Regions from separate parts of the Homo sapiens genome. Here region 1 is linked to region 2. The links are contacts of gene promoters, found by promoter capture Hi-C in blood cells and fetal thymus (Javierre and others, 2016). All regions are on one chromosome and are shown on one strand. Each heading gives the region's core, a stretch centred on a gene start or on the middle of the fragment in contact. The rest is flanking DNA. Distances are from core to core; before and after follow the strand shown. Region 1 overlaps WIPF2 (WAS/WASL interacting protein family member 2). Region 2 holds the start of TOP2A (DNA topoisomerase II alpha).

The links. The method cuts DNA at HindIII sites, captures the fragments that hold promoters and counts their contacts. A CHiCAGO score of 5 or more calls a contact.
Region 1: a contact is called between a fragment that was not itself captured here and the fragment with the promoter of TOP2A in region 2, in 1 of 17 cell types (neutrophils). The highest score is 5.3, in neutrophils.

The regions. Positions count from the first base shown.
Region 1 is chr17:40,266,223-40,271,968 of GRCh38, forward strand. All of the region lies in intron 5 of WIPF2 (WAS/WASL interacting protein family member 2), which reads left to right. Among named protein-coding and RNA genes, the nearest start is that of CDC6, 19 kb to the right of the region's middle. The HindIII fragment of the contact is 3,897 bases long and covers 297-4,193 here.
Region 2 is chr17:40,415,006-40,420,854 of GRCh38, forward strand. TOP2A (DNA topoisomerase II alpha) reads right to left here and starts at 2,891. Exons shown (of 35, transcript NM_001067.4): 1 at 2,766-2,891; 2 at 1,735-1,890; 3 at 1,417-1,507; 4 at 1,000-1,063. The coding sequence starts at 2,786. RefSeq lists enhancers at 2,550-3,075, 2,797-2,886, 4,555-5,097. The HindIII fragment of the contact is 7,280 bases long and covers 1-3,166 here.

The sequences.
Region 1 (5,746 bases), core at 995-3,494, 150 kb before region 2:
GTGACAGTCCATCTCAAAAAAAAAAAAAAAAAAAATGAGGGCTGAGCCCTCGCCCTCCTACATTAGAGGCAAAAGAGATGAAGAATACCCAGCAGAGGAAACAGAAAAGCTTCTAGTGAGGATGGAAGGAGAAAAACCAAGAATGTGATGGAAAAACTCCAAGGTAGAGTAAGTGGTCAGCTGTGCCCAGTGCTGCAGATGGGTCAGGTAAGTTAAAGACCAAGAACTGGCATTGGTCTTAGTATCATGGGACCCTTTTGAGTAGTTTCAGTGGAGTGGTGGAGGGTGAAAGTGAAAGCTTAATTGGAGTGGGTTCAAGAATGCAGGAATAGGAGGAGAGAAATTGGAGATAGCAATATAGAAATCTCTTAAAGAGTTCGCTGTAAAGTCCAGGAGAGAGGGGTGAAGATAAGTGAAGTGATTGTTGGACGAAGATGTGGGGTTGAGAGTTGTTTTTTTCCCATCCCAAGATGGGAGACCTATTTGTATGCTGATGGAATGAGTAGCATGAAACTTAGGAGAGAGGGAAAAAATTGAATCAGAAGAGAGGGAACAGATTGCCTGAATAATGACCTGGAGGAGGCCAGAGAAAAGAGAATGTGATCGATAGATAAAAAGGGTTGGCCTTAGATAGGAACATAGTTCTTCCATAGTAACAAGAGGGGAGGCAGAGCATATAGGCTTAGAAGCAAGTGGGTAGGTGGGTGTAGTGGTAGAAGCATGTGGAAAGTTTATTCTAATTTGCTTCTGTTTTCTCAGTGAAATGGAAAGCAAGAGCATCAGCTGTGATTGAGGCGAGGGAAGGAGAAGGAGAGTTGAGGAGAGAGAAGAGGCATGAAATGGTCATCTGGAGCGTGGGAGTGTGGGTGGACTAGGGAAGTGTGCTCAGATAGGCAACCACGCGAAGGGCCCACTTGAGATTATGGGCCATACATTTCATGTGAGATTAATTAGTCTCATGTGTTCAGTTGTGATTTGCAGGTACAGAAAAAGAGTAGAGCTGTGTTTAACCAGCGTTAGCATGTTTTAGGCATGTGCGACTCTAAGGGAGAGTGGGGCAGGAAGGGAAGGGTGTATGTGAGGGAGTGATTGCAATAATGGAGCCTAAGCTGGGTGAGGAGGGAATTTAGGAACCCTGGAAAAAGAAGAGGTTGTGTAATCTCGTTATAATTAGCATAACTGAAATTTTAGAGTGAGGGAGACCGTGACAGCTCTCTGGGGCCTTATTGGACATGGGAATTTTGGCTCCCATATCGTTGTATCATTAGACTTTGAGACATACCCTCCACAAACAGCTTCTTGGCCTTTATTTATTTATTTGTTTGTTTGTGTTTTGAGACAGAGCCTTGCTCTTTCGCCCAGGCTGGAGTGCAGTGGTGCAATCTCTGCTCATTGCAACCTCTTCCTCCCAGGTTCAAGTGATTGTTGTGTCTCAGCCTCCTGACTAGCTGGAATTACAGGCATGTGCCACCATATCTGGCTAATTTTTGTATTTTTAGTAGAAACGGGTTTTCGCCGTGTTGGCCAGGCTGGTCTCAAACTCCTGACCTCAAGTGAGCCACTGCGCCCAGCCCTTAGCTTTTATTTTAAAGTCAGTTTCTACAGGTATAGAACATTGATTAAGGAGTTATGTCATGGAGTCTGGGCATGATGGCTCACGCCTTAATCCCAGCACTTTGGAAGGTTGAGGCCAGCAGATCATTTAAGCCCAGGAGTTCGAGACCAGCCTGGGCAACATGGCAAAACCCTGTCTCTACAAAAAATAATTTTAAAAAATTAGCCTGGCATGGCGGTGCATGCCTGTAGTCCCAGCTACTTGAGTGGCTGAGGTGGGAAGACCACTTGAGCCTGGGAGGTGGAGGCTGCAGTGAGCTGTATTAGTGCCACTGCACTTCAGCCTGGGCAACACAGCAAGACGTTGTCCCAAAAAAAGGGTAAAGGTTATATCATTAAGTAGCAAGGCATTAAAAGTCCATTAACCTGTGTGCAGCTTCTTTGTTCAGTACATACAGATTTGTACTCTAGCAGCTGGCCATCTAACATAGGGCAGCCAAACAGTGGCCTACTGCATTCCTGATCCCATATCTCCCTAGCTTTAGCCATAATGAGGTAGTGCTAAGGTGGCCCTTGATTCTATAAAGTTCAGGTTTGACTTTTTTTTTAACTTAGGGATTTTACAAAAGACTCTTTGTCTGAGCAAAGCTCATATCTTTCTGACCTCATCCAGGAATAGAAGAAGAGAAAAATGCAATTTCCGTGGGTTGAGCTGAGCACTTTTAAATGTCTGCAGGCTTTCTTGCTTCCCACTTTTCCATTCTTTCTCTGTGGTAGCTAGGACTACAGGAGTGTTGCCACCATGTCTGGCTCATTAAAATTTTTTTTTATTTTTATTTTTTAAGATGAGGTCTGTGTTGCCCAGGCTGGACTCAAACTCTTGGGCTCAAGCCATCCTCCCACCTTGGCCTCCCGAAGCCCTGGGATTACAGATGTGAGCAATTGTACCTGGCTAGAGCAGCAATTCTTAAGAGTGATAAACCAGAAAAAAATTGAGATATTTTAGTCAGAGATCATTTGAGTATTGCCTCGATTTGTTGTGTGACATTGGACAGATCACTGATTCTCTTTTCTCACCGATTCTCTTTTCTCACCTGTAAAATGTACATTTGAAAAGTACAGTGGGGGTCAGGGACACAGGCTCACACTTGTAATCCTAGTGCTTTGGGAGGCTGAGGCAGGAGGATCGCTTGAGACGGAGTTCAAGACCAGCCTGGGCAACATGGTGAAACCCCATTACTACAAAAAATAAAAAAACTAGGCCGGGTGCAGTGGCTCACGCCTGTAATCCTAGCAATTTGGGAGGCTGAGACAGGCAGATCACCTGAGGTCAGGAGTTCAAGACCAGCCTGGCCAACATGGTGAAACCCCATCTCTCTACTAAAATACAAAAATTAGCCAGGCATGATGGCGGGTGCCTGTAATCCCAGCTACTCGAGAGGCTGAGACGGGAGAATCGCTTGAACCCGGGAGATTGTGGTTGCAGTGAGCTAAGATTGCACCACTGCACTCCAGCATGGGTGACTGAGCGAGACTCTGTCTCAAAAAATAAATAAATAAATAAATAAAAATAAATTTAAGAAACCTAGCCAGGCGTGGTAGCGTGTGCCTGTGGTCCCAGCTACTTGGGAGGCTAGGATGGGAGGATCACTTGAGCCCAGGAGGCAGAGGCTGCAGAGAGCTGAGATCACGCCACTGCACTCCAGCCTAGGCAGCAGAGCAAGACCCTGCCTCAAAACCCGCCCCCCCAAAACCCAAAAACTAGCATTATTGGTTCATAGAGTTTGTTTCAAGAATTTTTTCTTTGCAGAGTAAAACACTGTCTTTTTTTTTTTTTTTTTTTTTTGAGATGGAGTCTTGCTCTGTCGCCCAGGCTGGAGTGCAGTGGCGCGATCTCGGCTCACTGCAAGCTCCACCTCCCAGGTTCACGCCATTCTCCTGCCTCAGCCTCCCGAGTAGCTGGGACTGCAGGCACCCGCTACCATACCCGACTAATTTTTTTGTATCTTTAGTAGAGATGGGGTTTCACCATGTTAGCCAGGATGGTCTCTATCTCCTGACCTTGTGATCCGCCTGCCTTGGCCTCCCAAAGTGCTGGGATTATAGGCATGAGCCACTGCACCCGCCAACACTGTCCATTTTTAAGGGAATTTGAGAAAAATAGAAACCATCATACTTTTCTCAAAATTAGGGTTAATCTTGGATTACAAAAGCCTGTCTCCCATCCCAGGACTTCTTTTGGAAATTGTTTTTTAGGGACTGGAGTTCTGGCTCTGTCACTTGAAACAGTCTTAAAACTGGATCTGGGGCCGGGTGCGGTGGCTCATGCCTGTAATCCCAGCACTTTGGGAGGCTGAGGCGGGCAGATCATGAGGTCAGGAGATTGAGACCATCCTGGCTAACACGGTGAAACCCTGTCTCTCTACTAAAAATACAAAAATGAGCCGGGCGTGGTGGCGGGTGCCTGTAGTCCCAGCTACTGGGGAGGCTGAGGCAGGAGAGTGGCATGAACCCGGGAGGCGGAGCTTGCAGTAAGCCGAGATCGTGCCACTGTACTCAAGCCTGGGGGACAGAGCGAGACTCCGTCTCAAAAAAAAAAAAAAAAAAGAAAAATAACTGGATCTGACAAAGAGCCCAGAAGCTTATTGGAGACAGCAGAACCTGGCTGGGATGAGGGAGGGAGCTGGAGAAGCCAAACAGATCACTCTTACCCTGCTCTATTTTGCCATTCCAGGTCGTCTCATCGCTGTCACCTGCCTGGTGTCTAGCTGGTGTCGGTGTCCTTGTGAACCTGGCTAACCCTGTTTACCTTGCTGCCCTGGCCTAGGAGTAGATACAAATTCTCAGGGCCTTGAGGAATCTGGGTTTTAGGGAATATTTTTGAGGGCTTAAAGAAGCTTCTATTCTTAAAGAGCTTTAGTTTGAGTAGATTTGGAATCAAAACAAGGCTCAGAGATCTGCTGGGAGTTACAAGATTTCTCTTTAATTATTGCATCTAGTGTCCCCTGTTTCTACTGAACAAAGCTTGGAAACAGTGAGGAAGAGTTGACATTCTGAGTGTGTCTTACGGGAAGCAAAAACATTTATTGGGCTTATTGTGCCAGATTGTGTGTGTGTGTGTGTGTATGTTATTCTATTACTGTGTTACATGCTTAACTATAGTCACTACAGCAATTCTGATAGTAATCAGGAGGAATAATAAGATACTCTTTTCTTTGAGACAGTCTTGCTGTGTCACCAGGCTGGAGTGCAGTGGCGCGATGTTGGCTTATTGCAGCCTCCATCTCCCAGGTTCAAGCTCCTCCCACCTCAGGCTCCAGAATATCTGGGATTGCAGGCGTGTGCCACCACGCTTGGCTAATTTTTGTACTTTTTTAAAATTTGAGGTGAGGTTTCATCATGTTGCCCAGGCTGATCTCGAACTCCTGGCATCAAGCAATCTGCCTGCCTCAGCCTCCCAGAGTGTTGGGATTACAGATGTGAGCCACTATGCCTAGCCAAGATACCGTTTTACTACTAAAAACAGTTTTGTCTGTTAAGCTGAGTAGTCTCTTCACATACTATTTAGGTCACAACTATTTATTGGGCCACGTGCTGTGGCACATGCCTATAATCCCAGCCCTTTGCTGAGGCGGGAGCATTGCTTGAGCCCAGGAGTTTGAAGCTGCACTGAGCTATGATTCCACCACTGCGCTTTAACCTGGGTGACAGAGTGAGACCCTGTCTCTTAAAAAAAAAAAAAAATTGAACATGGCCTAGATACCAAAAGATGCACTTCCAAGCCACTGGATTGTAAATCTGGTTGGGAAGATACTATGCAGAATACTGGGAGTTACGAAAAGCAGTGTGGGAGAGTAGAAAGAGCAGACATGTGCCTTGCCTATTTTTATTTGATCTGTGACCTTAAACAAATAACCTGAGTCCCAGTTTTCTCATTTGTGAAATGGGGATAATATTACATACTTCGCATGTGTGGCTATAAGACTTTTTAAAGATTTAATACACCGAAAATGCCTGGAACATAATAGATACCCAATAAATGGTAGCTGCTATTATTGTTAGTTAATACAGAGCATAGGAGTAAGACAAACACGTTAGAATCTATTATATTCCAGTCATATTGCCATTTCTTGACACATGCTTTTGACGTTACCTTCTACTTGGTGGCAAATTTTCATCTTTTAAGAGTGAA
Region 2 (5,849 bases), core at 1,641-4,140:
TTCTACATAGTACTTATTATCTATAAAAAAAACTAATTAAAATTAGCTCAACTTTTTTTTTTTTTTTGAGACAGAGTCTTGCTGTGTCACCCAGGCTGGAGTGCAGTGGTGCAATCTCGGCTCACTGCAAGCTCCACCTCCCGGGTTCATGCCATTCTCCTGCCTCAGCCTCTCGAGTAGCTGGGACTACAGGCGCCCACCACTACACCCGGCTAATTTTTTGTATTTTTAGTGGAGACAGGGTTTCACCGTGTTAGCCAGGATGGTCTTGATCTCCTGACCTTGTGATCCGCCCGCATCGGCCTCCCAAAGTGCTGGGATCACAGGCATGAGCCACCGTGCCTGGCCCTAGCTCAACATTTTTTAAAGACTATGATATTGAGTCCTTAGGAAAATCCAGGTATACTTTGTCATAATCAATCAGACTAACAAAAAAGTGAAATAAGCACCCTGATCACCCACTAAGGGACACCCCGCATTTATAAGCAGAAATGTCAGATCAAATTATTCTCTACCACCACCTACTGGTTTACTGTTTGAATAGCATCATGAGAAAAAGTTAAAACTCCAGATGCCAGAATACTTAAAGCAATTACTGAAGGTGCTTGCTCAAATATTTAGGGATTAGGTGTCATAAGTCCTGTAATTTATTTTGAAATGATCCAGAGCAAATAGGCCGCGTGCCATGGCACACACCCATAATGCCAACACTGGAGGATTGCTTCAGGCCAGGAGTTCTAAGACCAGCCCAGGCAAAATAGCAAGACCCCTTCCTCTAAAAAAATTAACTAATTAAAAAAAAGATGGAGAAAATATGGAAAAACGTTGGCAACTGTTGGATCTAGGTGGTGGGTATCCATAGGTTTTTCATTTTAGCATTCTGCTTTTGTGTACTTTTCTCAACTTCTGTTTAGGAAAAGCCAACTTCACCAGTAATCAAAATACATGCAGCTAACAATAGCAACGAGCTACATAACAAAAACTAAGCAAAAGACGTACGGATCAATTGTGACTCTAATACAAGACATTTTTGGGTCCCTTTGTTTGTTGTCCGCAGCATTAACTGAAAGAAAATAAAATATACATTTGTAAGAAATTAGTGTTTTAAGAAACATTCTGTAACTCTAAGTAAGATATAGAAAAAAAAGTTCCCAAACAGCACAGGAGTGGCATTAACAAGGTGTTAATTTAGCAATTTTTGTCCATAGTACTGTTTCTACGAGAAGCTCAACCTCCTGGGCTCCAGGAAACCAGCTCACCTTTATCAACTGATTGAAATGACAGGAGCCCTGGCTACAGCAGGTTTGGTAGAAATGATACTTTTTGTTTTTACTTTTATCTTTTTTAAATTTTTATTTGGAATGATACTTCTTATGAAAGATTTGACCAGATCTTTATATTAAAGGATTTACTCACCTAGAATCTCATCAAAGATTTTGTACAAACCAGGAACAAAAGTGACTTCCCTATAGTTAATGCCAACATCTTCATCGTAAACCCACATTTGCTAGAAATAAGGCAAAGAAATACTGTTATTTTTATTCTATATTCATTGTTCTGTTATCATGATTACCATAAAGTGTTCATATTAAGTATTACCATATTTAGGCCAGTTCCAGTGACACTCAGTACATGAGAGATACAGAAAGGTCACACTCAGTACATGAAAGGTACAGAAAGAAGAGTATCCATTTCAACTACTAGGTTAACTGCCTTTGATGAGCTTGATTTTACCTGGGTCACTAATTCCACAGAACCAATGTAGGTGTCTGGGCGGAGCAAAATATGTTCCAATTGTGTTTTCTTTTGATAGATTCTTTCAACAGACAGTCTTTTCTTAGCATCTTCATTTTTCTTTATTTTGTTGACTTGCATATTTTCATTTACAGGCTAGCAATTAAAAAAAAAGAGAGAAAGAAGGGAATTTTTAATCATAAGTTTACCCTAAACTAGGAACAAAATGCCTACCATAGTGAGATGTCAACATGCATTGCAATCTGTTAGTAGGCAGTGGTGGAGTTGCCAGTTTTGTACAAATAGGACAATTTAAATTCGCTGCGGCCAGGTCCCCAGGTGTCAGGTTAAACAGACACATATTATCTCACCAAGTGGGTCTGTCTGGAAACCTCTTTTCTTGAGCAACATGGTAGATGTCATCAATAAAATACACCCACTTCTTTCAGTTCCTGCATACATTATTTACCGAGTGCCTATTATTATAAATTATTTACGGTGTCCCGAGCACACGACACCGTAAATAATTCTAGTTCGGCAGCAGCAGTTTGGGCGGCTATCCGTTCAATCCCTTGGCCACCTGAGCGTTGTGAACTCAGGAAGGGGGCGCTTTTGTAAGCTGGCCAGCTGCTCCAGAGAAACACTGTGCTAGGCTCTGCCCTTTCCAAGATCGGGGACATTCAAGACCGTTTTCAAGCAGCGGGCAGGAGGGGAAAGCATCTGTACGCGCGACTCAATAACGTCGCACCCGGGCCGCTGTAACATGGATCCACTACGGGACCAACGGACTCCTGCCCCTAGAAACAGGGCAACAACGCACGACACCCTGGAAGCCGGGTCATACTTCACTACTAGCACCAGAAGGGGCTTCCGCCTCTCCACGATCACCCCGGAACCGGGAATGGAGAATATGGGCTCCCAAGCCGGTCGCCGGCCTGACCGCAGCCCCAGAGCTTCACCCGTCACGGGCGGCCAGAGAGATGCCCGGGCCGCGCGGAGGCTCCACCGCCAGTCCCCCCCGCGAGCCGTACCTGCAATGGTGACACTTCCATGGTGACGGTCGTGAAGGGGCTCAAGAACCCTGAAAGCGACTAAACAGGCAGGACCCCACGAGACCACCCCCGACCAAGCCGCTTCTCCACAGACGCGCGTCGGTTAGGAGAGCTCCACTTGAACCTTCCTTTAGCCCGCCCGAAGCAGACCAGCCAATCCCTGACTCGCTCTCACCGTCTCCGTCCAGAAGAACCAATCGTAGCTTGCCTTTTATATCCACCTATGAACGGCTGAGTTGGCCGGGGTTTGTTTGAATAAACCAATCAGGTTAGGGAGGCGGGACTAGAGAGGCTTCAAAAGGCACCACTCGGCGTCATAGCGGAGAGATTGACAGGGAATCTGGCCAATGAGAAGGGCTCACTTGTTTTCTCGTGCGGAAAGCTTGGAAGAGATGGGCTTTGGAAGCGGGAAGGGGTGGCCTGAGGCAAAAGTGTGCAGGAGAAAAGCAAAGGATGTTTATTCTCCAGGAACTGCCAATCTATTTAAGATCCCTGAAATCTAAAAACTGTCCTCTGTTCTGACGTTGTTAGCGAGGGGAATGGGAGCCTTAGCTTCGTTTTCCTGAGGAAACTGAGTGCCGGCTTTCTGGACAGGCAGCCTGGCTGCTTGGTTGAAGCGAACAGATTCTGGCATCTGCCTCAACCCCGCCCCCTTTACCCTCGAATTCATTTTTCAAAGAAATAAAAGTAGGCTGTGTGCGGTGGCTGGAGTCTGTATTCGCAGCACATTGGGAGGCCGAGGCGGGAGGATCGCTGGAGCCTAGGAGTTGGAGACCAGCCTGGGCAACATAGCGAGACCCCGTCTCTACCCAAAAAGGAAAAAAAATAGCCAGGCGAGGCATCGCACACCTGTAACTCCAGCTCCGGAGGCTGAGGAGGGAGGATCGCTTGAGCCCCGGGGATCGGAGATCGAGGCGCCTTGAACCGTGATTGCTCCACTGCACTCCAGCCTGAGTGACAGAGCGAGGCCACCTCAAGAGATAAATACATAAATAAATAAATAATAAAAATAATTAAAATAAAAGTGCCACAGTTGTGGTTTGGGGGTTCCATATAGTGGAAGGATGTAGAAAGGCTTTGCAAAATGGAGGGCAGCATTCAGGTCCCCAGTAGAGCAGCGCTGGACTGCAACTGGTAAATCGAAAGGGATAACTTGTGGTGGTAGCCTCTTGAGCTGAGGGTGGGCTCAGCCGTCCGGGGCTGAAACCTTTTCCGCAGCCAGCTGGCCAGATACCCTCCGACTGGCTACTTTTGCTCACCTCCGTGAACCCTGCAGTCCAGAACAGCTGTTCCAATTTGACAAGGAAATGCCAAGACTGAAGCTTTTTTGTTTGCTTGTTTTTTTGTTGCTTTTTTTTTTTTTGAGATGGAATCTCACTCTGTCGCCCAGGCTGGAGTGCAATGGCGCGATCTAGGCTCACTGCAACCTTCACCTCGCGGGTTCAAGCGATTCTCCTGCCTCAGCCTCCCGTGTAGCTAGAATTACAGGCGCCTGCCACCACGCCTGGCTAATTTTTGTATTTTTTTAGTAGAGACAGGGTTTTGCCATGTTGACCAGGTTGGTTTCAAACTTCTGACCTCAAGTGATCTGCCCGCCTCAGCCTCTCAAAGTGCTGGGATTACAGGTGTGAGTCACTGTGCCCGGCGAAGACTGAAGTTTTAAAATTACTCTTACATATAAATGTTTGAGTGGATTAAACAAAGTTATTACCCTTACAAGAAGCCAGAAAAAAAAAAACTGCACAATTTGAGTGCCTACTAATTCCAGCTGAGCCACCTCTTTCCATTCATTGCTTCCTTCCTCTACCTGGGTTTCAGTCCCAACTCAGCAATTTGCCATTCGTGTCATTTCGATGGAGGAAGCCTCTCGGTGCTTCCGTTTCCTCTCCTAAAAAGAATAATTAACTATGATCTCAGAGTAGTGTGAGGGTTACATGAGAGAAGTGTAAGGTAAACAGTGGGCTGACAGTATTAGGTAGCAGGAATTTTCCTTAGGCTGGTGTGACAATTGTGGATGTAATTTTTTTTTTCTTCTTCTAAAAGAAACCAGAGGTCAACCATTGTTACATAACCACAGTGTGTCAAGGGAGGGCCAATGGGGAGCCGTATGATGTGGCAGGAAGCCAAGGATGGAAGTTGCCCATGGGCTAGGGGCACTCGGAAACCATAGGCATGGTGCTTCGGCATTGTTCTGCTCTCTTGACCTTTGGCTCCCTGGCCTCCAGCAGTCTCTGCGTGTTCCCAGCTCTGCTCTGCTCACCACATGTGTTAGAGAGCACAGGACCACCAGGGGCTCAGAGCAGTGGTAGGGAAGCTTGGCCAGTAGCCTCTGCTCAGCCAGAAGACTGACCAGGCCCTGGGATCCAGGGCCTGCATGCCACTCTCTGCAGGACACCCGAGGGCCCTGACAGAAACCAGCCATGCTGGCTTCTACCTCCTAGAACGCACTACCTCCAAGGTAGTGGGGATGGTGGGCATGCTTCCCCAAGGATGGCAGCTCAGTTTCTGCAGCTCCCGGCCTCTACCCTGTAGCTCATCCCAGCCTGCAGTGACCCACTGGGCAATGAGGCAACAGGAATTTAACAAGCAGCTCCAGCCCTATTTTTTAGGGGCCCAGCTTTAAATCTGTCCTGCAGTTTAGCTGGATCCTGTGTGTCTTTGTTCCAAAAACCCAGAAGAAGTACTGTGGAGTCAAAAGGACTTTGGGGACCGGGTGTGGTGGCTCACGCCTGTAATCCCAGCACTTTGGGAGGCTGAGGTGGGTGGATCACCTGAGTTCAGGGGTTTGAGACCAGCCTGGACAACTTGGTGAAACCCCATCTCTACAAAAATACAAAAAAAAAAATTAGCCATGCCTGATGGCGGGTGCCTGTAATCCCAGCTGCTCGGGAGGCTGAGGTGGGAGAATAGCTTGAATCCAGGAGGCGGAGGTTGCAGTGAGCCGAGATCGTGCCATTGCACTCCAGCCTGGGCGACAGAGCAAGACCCCGTCTCAAAAAAACAAACAACAACAACAACAAAAAACACAAAAGGACTTTGGGGCCACACACACCTAAGTTAGAA